Regions from separate parts of the Homo sapiens genome. Here region 2 is linked to region 1. Evidence: promoter capture Hi-C in 16 types of primary human blood cells and fetal thymus (Javierre and others, 2016). All regions are on one chromosome and are shown on one strand. The core of a region is centred on a gene start or on the middle of the fragment in contact, and the rest is flanking DNA. Distances in the headings are between cores, read along the strand shown.

Region 1 (6,823 bases), core at 2,012-4,511:
AAGATATTTGGAAAGGAAGAAGAAAGACTGGAACTATTTTCAGATGATATGACAGTGTATATAAAATTCTACAAAGTATTACAGACAAATTATTAGAATCGATAGAAGAGTTTATATGCTTATAGGATAAAATCTTAACGAACAAAAGCCAATTGTATGCTATTTAGAGCTATAAATTTAGACAATAAAAATTTCAAACATATGATTTGCAAAATATTAAATGCCTAGGATAAAAAAGTTGCCTTGTGGGAAAAATATAAAATAATATTTGGGCAAATTAAAGGTGATCTTATTAACAGAAGAGATAGACCATAACCACGAATCGAACATTCAATATTGAGAAGTCAAATCTAAAATATCAGCACAATTCAAATTAGAACCCCAAACTAGCTGTTGGTTGAAGTTTTTACGATTAGTTTATAATTTAAATGGAATTGAAATGGACCAAAAGTAGCCAAGACACTTTTGAAGAGCAAGGTAGAATTGATTTGCCTAATCCAAATATCAGAATTGACTATGGATCTGTAGTAATTAAGACAGTGTGGTATTTCAAACAGACAAGTGCTTAATAGAGAGTATAGAACTAGCCCACATATGTGTAGATACTTGATTTATGGCACTGTAAATCAACTGGCAAAAGGCAGACTTTTCAATAAGTGGTTCACTGAGAAAACTGGATATTCACTTACTTACATACATATATACATAAATGGAACTCTACTTAACACAATACACAAACATCAATTGCAGGTGGATTAAGACCTGACTATGAAGGACAATAGCAGACATATTTTAGAAGAAAATATAGAGAATGCTTTCATGGTCCAGGGTTCCTTAAAACAGAAAAGATTTCTTAAAACAAAAAAGCACTAACCATCAGGAAAAGAATGATGAAATTGACTATATTATAATTAATAGCTTCTGTTCACAAACCGGAGCACAAAGCAAGTGAATATACAAACAGAGCAAGGGAGTATTTTGGCCGCAGGTGTGGAAGAGTATTTAAAATATTTAACAGACTCATTAAGTCAGTATCAGATGAACAATAAAATAGAAACGTGGGTTAAAAGAGGTAAATTTGAATAGGCCTTCCTCAAAATAGAAACTCCAAAAGGCTCATTAACACAAAAATGTGCTAAAGCTTAATAGTAATTTGGATATTGCCCACCAGTAGACCGGCAAAATTTAAATTCGGGCAATACTTGGTGTAGGTGAACATGTGGATCAGTAAGGACTCTCTATGCTGCTGGTGGGATTGACAACTCTCCCAATCACTACAGAGAACAATTTGGCATCATCTAGTAAAGCTGAGGATATCCATTCCCTATGGCCCTGTGATTCTATTCTTGGATATATACCCTAGAGAGATTTTTACACGTGTCCCATTAGAAATGTGCAAGAATGTTCACAATAATCATTGAAAAGTAGAAGCAATCCTAATCTCCATCTGCTGTAGAATGGAGTGGAATAATCATACAATAATCACTTTGCTATAAGCATATGCTGGAAAGACAGTCGATGGAGACAAAGGATCTACTTACTTATAGCTATTATGAACAACATGGACGAGTCTCTCAAGTATAATACAGAGTGAAAAAAGCAAGCTATAAAAGGAAGCATGCCGTATGATTCCACTTATACAACTTCATATCAACTCTATTGTTTAGGGATGCGTACAAAAGTGATAAAGCTATAAAGGAAAGCAGTGAAATGATTATTACAAAGTCGGAGCAATTACTATATCTATATAGGAGAGTGTGGTTTGTGACTGGAAGGAGTACAGCAGCTGTATTCTGGGAGGTTGGCAGTGGTCTATTGCTTGACCTTGGTCCTGGTTAAGTAGGTGTCTGCTTTTGTAAAATAATCTAAACTATACAGATACGTTATATGCACTCTTCTAATTTCAGATTTGAAAAGTGCTTCCTCCAGAAAAAGTAATAGAAAGAAAAGTATGTGGAGTAGAAATTTTGATGAGGTTCGAATAGTTATGGTTGAAAAACTTGATTTTCAAGAGACCAAGTGTCCACTGTTATTAAAAGAGGGCGAGAGAGCTGGGAGTATTTAAACAACAGGTTACACCCCCCCACCCCCACCACCACCAATCTGTTCATCACTCTAAGCCTTCTCATCTCAGATATTTCACCCTATATTTGTGTCAATTCCAAACTCATTCGTGACAGACAAATTGGAGGATTGTCGTCATCATTAATAAGGACATTAGGCACCAAAGGCCCAGCAAGACTGGGCCACCACACTTAAATGTGAGCAGGTACACCGGGGCGAGTGGACAAGATCGTCTGTGCACATTACTTGGCAGAGTCCATTGAGTGACTGAGGGTTTAACCTTAACACATTTAACTGGAACTCCTGCCCAGAGAATGTGCTGGAGAATGCAGAATAAACTGAGCAATGCCCTCATTGTGCTATGAGAGTGGACATGAAGTTTATCATGGTACAACCGATCGTCGAAGGGCAAAGAGTTGGTTTAGGTTGTGCACTGTATAGGGAGAAGCCAGGGGCGGGTTGGGTTTTTTTCCAGATTTCAGTATAAATTGTTTCATCCTCCAGACTTTGCATTTGTAGGCTGAAGAGTGCTAATCTGTTTTGGCCGCATCTCTCACTCATTCTAATCTCTGTTATCAGCAGACAAAAATTGAACTATGTGGCAAATTGTACCGAGCACTTTGCTCAAGACAATTGTGAGTATGGAAGTTGTCCCGCGCAGAGGTGGGAAGGGGAAGGGCAATTTCCGCAGAAATGCCAGCACTATGGTGGTTTAATGCTGACACAGAGACAGTTTTTTCTCTCAGGAATTGTCTTTCATCCATCAATCCAGCCAGGTAGCCAGCCAATAAACAAATTTTAACACACAAAAAGTATGAAGCAACATGTCTAACACTGGGAGGGGCTGGCGTGTGTTTATTTGGGTATATACAATGAGTCACGGATTAAAATTGCTTTTACCAGATAGATACCTAGGTGTTCCACAGCATTATTGAACAAGATGTCGTCATTTCCCCATTACTTCAGAAGACCTCCTTAATTACTTATATTAATTGTAGAATATATTTATGCATACCAGGCTCTACCTCTGGGCTTTCTATTCCGTTCCAGAGACCCAGTACCAGAATATTTAAATCACTGTGGCGTTGAATACATTTTAATATCTGATAGGGCCAGTTTCTGCGCATTGCACATTTTTTTTTCCCCTTTCAGGAACGTGTTCAGGCCCGCGGCAGGGGGCGGGATCGCGCCTCCTCCTCGGCTCTGGTTCCAGCCGAGCCTCTCGGACGCAGAGATGGAAATCCCGAAGCTGCTCCCGGCTCGCGGGACACTACAGGGCGGCGGCGGCGGCGGTATCCCCGCGGGTGGCGGCCGAGTCCACCGAGGCCCTGACTCGCCGGCTGGCCAGGTCCCCACGCGCCGCCTCCTGCTGCCCCGGGGCCCCCAAGATGGCGGGCCCGGGCGGCGGCGCGAGGAGGCCAGCACGGCATCACGGGGCCCTGGCCCAAGCCTGTTCGCGCCGAGGCCCCATCAACCTAGCGGCGGCGGCGACGACTTCTTCCTGGTGCTGCTTGACCCGGTGGGTGGCGACGTGGAGACCGCGGGCTCCGGTCAGGCCGCAGGGCCTGTGTTGAGGGAGGAGGCCAAGGCGGGCCCGGGGCTCCAGGGGGACGAGAGCGGCGCGAACCCCGCGGGCTGCTCTGCGCAGGGCCCCCACTGCCTGTCCGCGGTTCCCACTCCGGCCCCGATCTCCGCCCCCGGCCCCGCCGCGGCCTTCGCGGGCACAGTCACTATCCACAACCAGGACCTGCTGTTGCGCTTTGAGAACGGCGTCCTCACCCTGGCCACGCCCCCACCACACGCCTGGGAGCCAGGGGCCGCTCCTGCCCAGCAGCCCAGGTGTCTGATCGCCCCCCAAGCTGGGTTCCCGCAAGCCGCGCACCCGGGTGACTGCCCAGAGCTGCGGTCCGACCTCCTGCTAGCCGAGCCCGCAGAACCCGCGCCTGCTCCGGCGCCCCAGGAGGAGGCGGAGGGCCTGGCCGCCGCCCTGGGCCCCCGCGGACTGCTGGGCTCTGGTCCAGGCGTGGTGCTGTACCTGTGCCCCGAGGCGCTGTGCGGGCAAACCTTCGCCAAGAAGCACCAGCTGAAGATGCACCTGCTGACGCACAGCAGCAGCCAGGGCCAGAGGCCCTTCAAATGCCCCCTGGGTGGCTGCGGCTGGACCTTCACCACCTCTTACAAGCTCAAGAGGCACCTGCAGTCGCACGATAAACTGCGGCCCTTCGGCTGCCCTGCGGAGGGCTGTGGCAAGAGCTTCACCACCGTGTACAACCTCAAGGCGCACATGAAGGGCCATGAGCAGGAGAACTCGTTCAAATGTGAGGTGTGCGAGGAGAGCTTCCCCACGCAGGCCAAACTCGGCGCCCACCAGCGCAGCCACTTCGAACCCGAGAGGCCTTACCAGTGCGCGTTTTCTGGCTGCAAGAAGACATTTATCACAGTGAGTGCTCTGTTTTCCCATAACCGCGCCCATTTCAGGGAACAGGAACTGTTTTCCTGCTCTTTCCCTGGCTGCAGCAAGCAATATGACAAGGCTTGTAGGCTGAAAATTCACCTGCGGAGTCACACCGGCGAGAGACCTTTCCTTTGTGACTTTGATGGCTGTGGCTGGAACTTCACCAGCATGTCCAAACTCTTAAGGCACAAAAGGAAGCACGACGATGACCGGAGGTTCATGTGCCCTGTGGAAGGCTGTGGGAAATCTTTCACGAGGGCCGAACATCTGAAAGGCCACAGCATTACCCACCTGGGCACAAAGCCTTTCGTGTGTCCTGTGGCAGGCTGCTGTGCCAGGTTCTCTGCTCGCAGTAGCCTCTACATTCACTCCAAGAAACACCTGCAGGATGTGGACACTTGGAAAAGCCGTTGCCCGATCTCCTCTTGTAATAAACTCTTCACATCCAAGCACAGCATGAAGACGCACATGGTTAAAAGGCATAAGGTGGGCCAGGATCTCTTAGCTCAGCTAGAAGCAGCAAATTCTCTTACACCCAGCAGTGAACTTACCAGCCAGAGACAGAATGATCTCAGTGATGCAGAGATAGTGTCTCTCTTCTCTGATGTACCTGACAGTACTTCTGCTGCATTGCTGGACACAGCATTGGTGAACTCTGGAATCTTGACTATTGATGTGGCTTCTGTGAGCTCGACTCTGGCAGGGCACCTCCCTGCTAATAATAATAATTCCGTAGGGCAGGCTGTGGACCCTCCGTCCTTGATGGCCACCAGCGACCCTCCTCAAAGTCTGGATACCTCTCTCTTTTTTGGAACGGCGGCCACTGGTTTTCAGCAGAGCTCCTTAAATATGGATGAGGTCTCAAGTGTAAGTGTGGGGCCATTGGGATCTCTGGACTCTTTGGCCATGAAAAACTCCAGTCCAGAGCCTCAGGCTTTGACACCCAGCAGTAAGCTAACAGTGGACACAGATACTCTGACTCCTTCGAGCACCCTTTGTGAAAACAGTGTCTCAGAACTACTGACACCAGCCAAAGCGGAGTGGAGCGTACATCCTAACTCTGACTTCTTTGGACAGGAGGGAGAAACCCAGTTTGGATTCCCCAATGCAGCAGGAAACCATGGTTCTCAGAAAGAAAGAAATCTTATCACTGTGACTGGCAGCTCATTTTTGGTATGAAGCAACTCTATTCATTCCTTGCCATGTGGCTAACTTTTATTACAGTCAATTTTGAGGATATTCTGGACTAAATATTTAAGTGCAGTCATTTCTTTTTGGTTTGCAAAAAGAGCACAGCCCTGGACTATGAGTTTGGAGATCTAAATTCTGATCTTGAGTCTGGAACTGACAAGTTGTGTGACCCTCAGCAAGTCACTTAACCTATCTGAGCCTTAATTTCCTTATTTATAAATTGTGGTGGTTTGAACACATTGCTCATAAGGTCTTTTCAGTTTTGTTTTGTTTTGTTTTGTGATTTTGTGCTTTTTCTTGAAAATTTTCGGGCATTTTGCAATTATTATTGTTTGTACTTGTAATCAGAAGCGGTTTGAGCCCTGTAGCACTAAATAATGAAAGATTGAGGAACTGGTGTTTTACATTAAAAATTTAATGGAAATTTTACACAGTACGAAAATCTAATGATAGAGCTCAAAAAAAAAGAGCTAAAAATAGGAGTTGGTTCTTCTTAGCTGTTTATCCTTCTAACCTTTTTTTTAAATGATGAAGGTATGTTTTTGTTGTGGAAAATACAAGGGCTTTTGTTATCACTCAGACCCAGAGTGAAATGTTTGCTTTGTGGTTTTGAATAAGTTGGCCTTTAATAAGTTATTTAGTCTCTCTTAGCCTCAGTTTTCTATCTGTAAAATGGTCATAGCAATGTGAACATATGTGTTACATCCTAGACTTATTTTTCTACCCCAGTAGGTTGTATTGAAAGGAAAATGTTATATGTGTTTCAGCATGTTTTGGTGAATCTTCATTCCCTTTCCTGCCCCTTGTTTTCCCTCCTCAAAGGGGAGAAATTAGCACAAATTAGTATCAGGATTGTGCAGGAAATAAACATTTGTGAAGGTTAAGAAAGAGGAAAAGGAAGTTATTTCTTCAACAGATTAAGGATTTTTCTACACACAGTTCTTTTGTGGCATTGGCCACATGTCCATTAGACCAATTTGATAGTATCTTCGGTCTGCATTCAAAGCCAGCTCATGCAATGAGTATTCAGCCTATTCTTCCAAGACAATCTGGACATAGACCAGAGGGAGATTTTTCTCCCCTCTGTGCCCTAGAGAGCTCATTGCTGGCTTA
Region 2 (6,823 bases), core at 498-2,997, 920 kb after region 1:
GTTATGCATTGATTTTGTTAATTTCCTTTCTCGGTCCACCTGGCAACTGTGCTCCTCTTCGCAGGCATGAAGACCCCGTTTGGAAAGGCAGCTGCAGGGCAGCGGTCCAGGACGGGCGCTGGCCACGGCAGTGTGTCTGTTACCATGATAAAGAGGAAGGCTGCACACAAGAAGCATAGGAGCCGACCCACCTCCCAGCCTCGGGGGAACATCGTGGGCTGCAGAATTCAGCACGGATGGAAAGATGGAGATGAACCTCTAACACAGTGGAAAGGAACCGTTCTGGATCAGGTACCTGTAAATCCCTCTCTGTATCTTATCAAATATGATGGATTTGACTGTGTTTATGGATTGGAACTTCACAGAGATGAAAGAGTGTCATCACTTGAAGTCCTTCCTAATAGAGTTGCATCATCTAGAATCAGTGATACACACTTGGCAGAAATAATGGTTGGCAAAGCAGTGGAACATATTTTTGAGACAGAGGAAGGTTCCAAAAATGAATGGAGGGGGATGGTCTTAGCTCAGGCACCTGTCATGAACACATGGTTTTACATTACCTATGAGAAAGATCCTGTATTATATATGTACCAGCTCTTAGATGATTATAAAGATGGTGACCTCCGCATCCTTCAAGATTCCAATGATTCTCCTCTGGCAGAGAGGGAGCCAGGAGAAGTCATAGACAGCCTGGTAGGCAAACAGGTGGAATACGCCAAAGACGATGGCTCCAAGAGAACTGGCATGGTCATTCATCAGGTAGAAGCAAAACCCTCTGTGTACTTCATCAAATTTGATGATGATTTCCATATCTATGTCTACGATTTGGTAAAAACATCTTAGAGGTCATCTTGAAATTTGCCAAATATATGAGACTCTAAATCTGTAGACACAGAAAGTCTTGATTGCTTTCCAGTTTGTAAGAACCATCTTCTCCCTTTTTGCACGTTTTGCTTGGCAAAAAAATTGGAACTTCTGCCCTCTCATACGTTTTTGGAAGAAACCTTTTGCCCATCTGTCCAACCTTTTCACTGGTTCCTCTCCGCAATTTAACTGATTAGTGAGAAGGGTAAAGTCTGACATCCATTGGCTCATACTTTTTTTTATCTTGGGTGGTGTTAATAGATTAAAGGTAGCTGAACACCTCTCACCTCACTCTTTTTGGCACTTGGACTCTACACTCATTGAGGTGTGAAGCTTGCTGAGATATCCCATGTGACTGGCTGGGTAAGTGTCTTTGCAATCTCAAATCTCCCCCAAGTGGCTTCAAAAATCTAACTTGGGAAAGAGTGGGAAGCCCATTTTGGTCTCTTGTTCAAGTTGCATTCTCAGTTCTAACTGTACTAAAAGTAAGGCTAATAATTTTGCTCTCTTTCCGGTTCTTTCACCTATTGCTCAACTGTTTTAGAATTAAGAAGGTAATTACTTTGCATTTTAGTACCTAACCATAGGCTGAGAAACCTTGCAAAACTGATAAGAAGACAAGCATTTGGGGACCAAACTCCAAGTGGAGAGATCAAGATTTCTGGTGGAGCTTAAGTGAAAGGTTTTAGTCATCAGTGGCATTAGGGTCTCTCTTGTCTCCAATAGCTCTGGCTGGTATCTGCAGACATGGAGTAGGTTTTAACTGATAGAAGCTGTGCAGGCAGACTTTAGCACAAATGGTCTTTGCCAGCCCAGAGGAGCATTAAGCCAGGCTCTAGCTAGAGCCCTCAGTCACAGGCAAAGGCTGGGTTTGGCTGGGTTTGGACAGATCTGTCCAGAACCTCAAAATGAAAGAGGAGAAACCTAGAATCAAACTGAGATACAGATTTCTTTGCTGTGCTAAGAGAGACTCAAGTTTTAGATTTGATTCTTAGGAGACTGAATTCAGAGTCCCAGCATGTGAGGTGGGCAAGGCACTTGTGAGAACCAAGAATGGCTGAAAGCAGGCTATACTTCCTTGCAGGGACTGGTGGGCTCATCTATTATGGTATCCCAGCAGGACTTGGAACACAGTCAGTGGTAGGTAATCTGTAGGCTTAATGATGTTTTAAGTGCTGGCATTGGTAGATAGAAATCTAATAGATTTTTGTTAGTGTTTGGATTTTTAACTATCCTGTTTCTTGGCTGGCCCTAAGAAACTTATATGCAGATAAGGGTGAGTTCTACTGTGGCAGAAAAGTAAACAATGGAAGGGCCTTTGAGCTTTCCATTATTAAAGAGCCATTGGCGGAGGTTAACCAAAGCCTAGGAAAGAAAAGTTGAAGTACAAGCATGGTTTTTGAGAGAAGCACCTGGCCAAAACCAAAGCTTTCTCATTGAGGTTCTCACAGAAGCTCCATTAGCAGTAACAGCCTAATAAGGCCATGGAGTTCTGCACATTTGGGGCTGGGACTCAAGGCAGTACAATCATATTGGGACTGTACTGCAAGATATCTTCCAAATTAGTTTAAGTTCACAGGTCATGGAGTCCAGACTACCGGCACAGATTGGCATCCTGCTGAGGATGAAACAAAGAAGATGTTCTCTTTTCTCCTATGTTTTATCTGTCTACTTTTGCTTTTTGATGCCACTAAGTCTCTACTATGATGTTTGACTGACAACAGCAATGTGGGTCTGTATTGCCCTATGTTCTAAGTCCTGGGGTCATATATTTGCTTAAAAAAACTGTTCTAGTGGCTGGGGACTAGTGTGCTTTCTAATTTTTTTGATGTGAGGTTGATATTGTGATAATCTTATGTCTTCTTGACCCTTTGGACTCTTTAATATGTATGACATGCAATTGTGGGGTTAGATTAATTCAACTCCTGAGGTCCTGAAGGAACTTCACCCAGTCAAGAGGAAGACAGCCAAGGCTGCAGCTGCTGAAGGAACCCCATATCTGGGCAGACATCTTTGTGAGATCTATATGGCTGAAATGAGAAAAACGAGAAATTGGGAAAGGCAGAATTTTGGACTTTAATTATTTTGGACTTTGAATTAGAAATTTAATTTTGGGCAGTCCTTTTTCCCTTGGAGTTTAATAGTTGATGGGGTGGGGGTGAGGTCATATAGTTCAAACTAAGGCATTTTTATTATGTTGTTGATATTGTATTATTTGGAGTATTTTAATGCTATCTTTGGGAGTCATTGTATAATTGTTGTCAGCTATGTCAGGAAATATGGCTGGACATAATTGTAAATTAGGGCTGCAATTGTGATCAAATTTTCAGTCTAGGGTGTAATGTAGCCTTAGAGTTAATTTAATTACTGTTCTATTTTGACTTATTTCAGAGCCTCTTGGGGGCAAAAACAACTGCTCACCAATCTTACATTGATGGGAGCAGAACTTTTCTAAGATACTGTTGGTCTCCCTGGAAGGGGACAGCCACAGCCCTGTTTGTTGACCAGAGTCTTGAGCATTAACCATTGTGGCTTAAGAGAATGAAAATGTACAAGGGTATGATGGGATCTATCCTCTTCCTCTCTCCATGCTCCTGACTCAAGAAAAGGAAAAGACTTGCATCTCTCAAAAATGTTTGGAAGAAAGTTCTACCCATCTTCTCTTACACTCATTCAATCTTATGCTTGGGAGGAGGAATAACTTGATGAGATTGAGAAAATGGTTATAATGGATAGGCAGCTTAGGCCACTCTTGGATCTTGAGTTCGTTCCACACAGCAAGATGTGGGAAAGACTGCAGTCCTTCACTACATGGCTGGGTAAACATCTGCTTTCTAGACCCAACTATCTCTCCTTGGGGTGGGGGAATCCCAAAGTCGTTAGACTTATGATAGAAGTTCATTTCAGCCTCAGGTCCAAGCCATGTTCTCCAATCCAGCTCTATCAGCTATAAAGCTGGTATCTATTTTGATTCTTTTTTACAGTTTTAATATATAAATTGTTTTTTAGAAAAATAACACATGCCTATGGTAAAAGTCAAACAGTATAAAAGGGTATACTATTAAAAAGTAAGTCTCTCTTCCTCCTTCTCACCCCTGGCCTCAGTTCCCTGGTCCCATTTTCAAAAAGTAACAACTGTTACCAGTTACTGATGTATCATTCCAGAGATATTCCATGTATTTACAAGCATATTGTGTGTGGGTATGTGTGTATCAGGTTTTTTTTTTTTTTTTACACAAATGGTGGCATACTATACATGCTGTTCTGAATTTTGCTTTTTTCACTGAACAATATATTAAAGCTGATATCTTAATCCCTATTTGATTCCTGTGTATATTTTTTAATTGGTTCAGAATCTGGAAGGGAAGGAGGTGTAATTAATTCAAACCTTCAGACCCTAACCCAGTTTAATGAAAACTTACATGACCCTACAAACCCACAATTTCTGCCAGTCCAATTTTTCTCAAAAGTAGAATGTGAAATATATGTGAACATAACGTATTCTCTGAGAGGAACTTCTCAAGAGAGGCCAGTATATTTTTACTGAGGGAAGTTAAAAGGAAAACCAATTATATATTGAAGCTGTGGGGAAAGTTAAGGTACTATATAATTAATAAACCAGAAATGAAATGAACAATTATTTTTTTCTGTTTAAACTTGCACTCACATCTACTGCAATATGCAAATTCATATTTATAGCTTTGATTTGCCTTTTCTAACAGAACTTGCCTGCATGTAACAGGAAACCCATTTCAAACAGGCTTAAACTGTTACCAAACGTTGATCAATATAAATTTAAAAAAAATCTAGAGCTCAGATGGGCTTCAGGCATAGTTTGAATTGGGGCTCAGGCTCAGTGTTTATGATTCTTTAGGATTTTCCCTCTGTGTGTCAGTTTCATTCTCAGGCTGTTTTTTCTTATGGTAGCAAAATTGGACCAGCAGTTCCAGGCTACAGCAGTCCAATCTAGAGAAAGATAGATAACCTGTGTCCTATGATGTATTCTCAGCTGGCTTAGGTCAGATACTTTGACCAATCACTAAAATCTCAGGGATGAAATACACTGATTGGCTTAGCAAGGTCAGGTGTTCCATCCCTAACCTCTAGGGCAGTGGTCCCCAATTGTTTTGGCACCAGGAACTGGTTTCATGGAAAACAATTTTTCCACGGACAGGGTGGGTGAGGGGAGGGGGGTGGTTTGGGGATGATTCAAATGCCTTACATTTATTGTGCAATTTATTTCTATTATTATGTTCTAATATATAATGAAATAATTATATAACTCACCATAATGTAGAATCAGTAGGAGCCCTGAGCTTGTTTTCCTGCAACTAGACTGTCCCAAATGAGGGTGGTGGGAGACAGCAACAGATCATCAGGCATTAGATTCTCATAAGGAACATGCAACCTAGATTCCTTGCATGCACAGTTCACAATAGGGTTCATGCTCCTATGAGCATCTAATGCCACTGCTGATCTGACAGGAGGCAGAACTCAGGTGGTAATGCAAGTGATGGGGAGCAGCTATAAACACAGATGAAGCTTCGCTTGCTTACCCACCTGCCACTCACCTCCTGCTGTGCAGCCTGGTTCCTAGCAGGCCATGGACCAGTATTTGTCAGTGGCCCAGGGGTTGGGGACCCCTGCACTAGGGTATATCTCTCTGAAACCAGATGGATTTCCAGTAGAATCAAGGGCTTTGGGTAAATGAATAATGAATGCTATTCACCAATCACAAATATCTAGTATAGCTTCTTCATTTGAATACCTAGTATCCATGGACACATTTCTTCCTACACATCCTCTTTCAAAGAATGCCCACATGTAGGTGTGATAAATTCATGTCCCCAAAGGAGAAAAACCTGAAGTCTTATCTAGTTACTGCATTTAGCGTTAAGTTCAAGATCCCTAGTTGATATGCAGCCATCTTTAGATCCATCTTCCTTGCAGTCTGGTCACCTATACTTAAATTATAAACTACTCTTCTCAACATACCCAATATACACTAGTGGGGAGATAACCAGAGAAATATAATCAAAACTACCATTTGAAAAAGGGAGGAAATAGGAAACAATACATAGTAGCTTCTGGTCCAAAGCATATATCATAACCTGTTAGACAAGGACTACCTATCCTGGCAGTTGAGTGACTCCTTTGGTCAAATACCTCTTTGTGTTTTCTGAGACGTTCTCTCTTGGAGGCATATCTTGGGTGGATGCCCTTTTTGGGGGTTGAACTGGGCATTCTACGCCACTTCTTGCACCTGGGGGTTGAACAATTGGAGGTTTTTAAATTATTGGCTATAATTAGAGATTATTTAGTACAGTAGCTCTCACTTTAGTACACACCAGAATCACCTTGAGAACTTGTTAAAATACAGATTTCTGGGGCCCTCTTACAGAGATTCTGATTGAGCAAGTCTAGGGTGGGGTCCACAGGCTTATATTTATAACAAGTTCCCACATGAGACTGATGCTGCTGGGACCCCACATTGAAAATCACTGATTTATAGGTGGCAATTGAGTGAGGTCAGAGTTATTATTTCCTATACTTACCTGATAAGATTTACCTGGAGTGATTGTTAAATATAAATTGCTGAGTCCCATCTTAGATGTAATGAATCAAAATCTCTTGGGAAGGGACCTGGGGCAGCTGTACAAGATACCTCAGGTGATTCTTTATCATCAGTAATGATTAGGAAACACTGATCTAGGAAATTAGGTTTTTCTTGCTCCAATCTTATTTCCTAATAAGTCTTCCATCTGCTTGCCCTTGTTCTCACTAAGCTTAATTTGGGGCAAAAAAAACTTGGCTTTTCAAATCATACAAAGTTCCAAATTACCCACGTCTCTTTCCACTGGGATTTCACAAAACCAGTGAGTAAACAAGCAAAGTTTTATTTTCTTCTTTCACTGTTTTCAAGTAGGCCCATTTCAACAATGGAGATGTTATGCTTGAT

What was found. Contacts are between HindIII fragments. The CHiCAGO score rates a contact against its expected background, and 5 or more counts as called.
Region 2: a fragment that was not itself captured here is called in contact with the fragment with the promoter of ZXDA in region 1 in 3 of 17 cell types (total CD4 T cells, erythroblasts and activated CD4 T cells); the score reaches 10.2 in total CD4 T cells.

Annotation. Positions count from the first base shown.
Region 1 is chrX:57,906,896-57,913,718 of GRCh38, reverse strand. It overlaps ZXDA (zinc finger X-linked duplicated A), which reads left to right and starts at 3,261. Exons shown (of 1, transcript NM_007156.5): 1 at 3,261-6,823. The coding sequence starts at 3,299. The coding sequence ends at 5,698. RefSeq lists a silencer at 3,834-4,093. The HindIII fragment of the contact is 7,022 bases long and covers 1,144-6,823 here.
Region 2 is chrX:56,988,191-56,995,013 of GRCh38, reverse strand. It overlaps SPIN3 (spindlin family member 3), which reads left to right. Exons shown (of 2, transcript NM_001010862.3): 2 at 65-4,183. The coding sequence starts at 67. The coding sequence ends at 843. Among named protein-coding and RNA genes, the nearest start is that of SPIN3, 3.9 kb to the left of the region's middle. The HindIII fragment of the contact is 1,095 bases long and covers 1,200-2,294 here.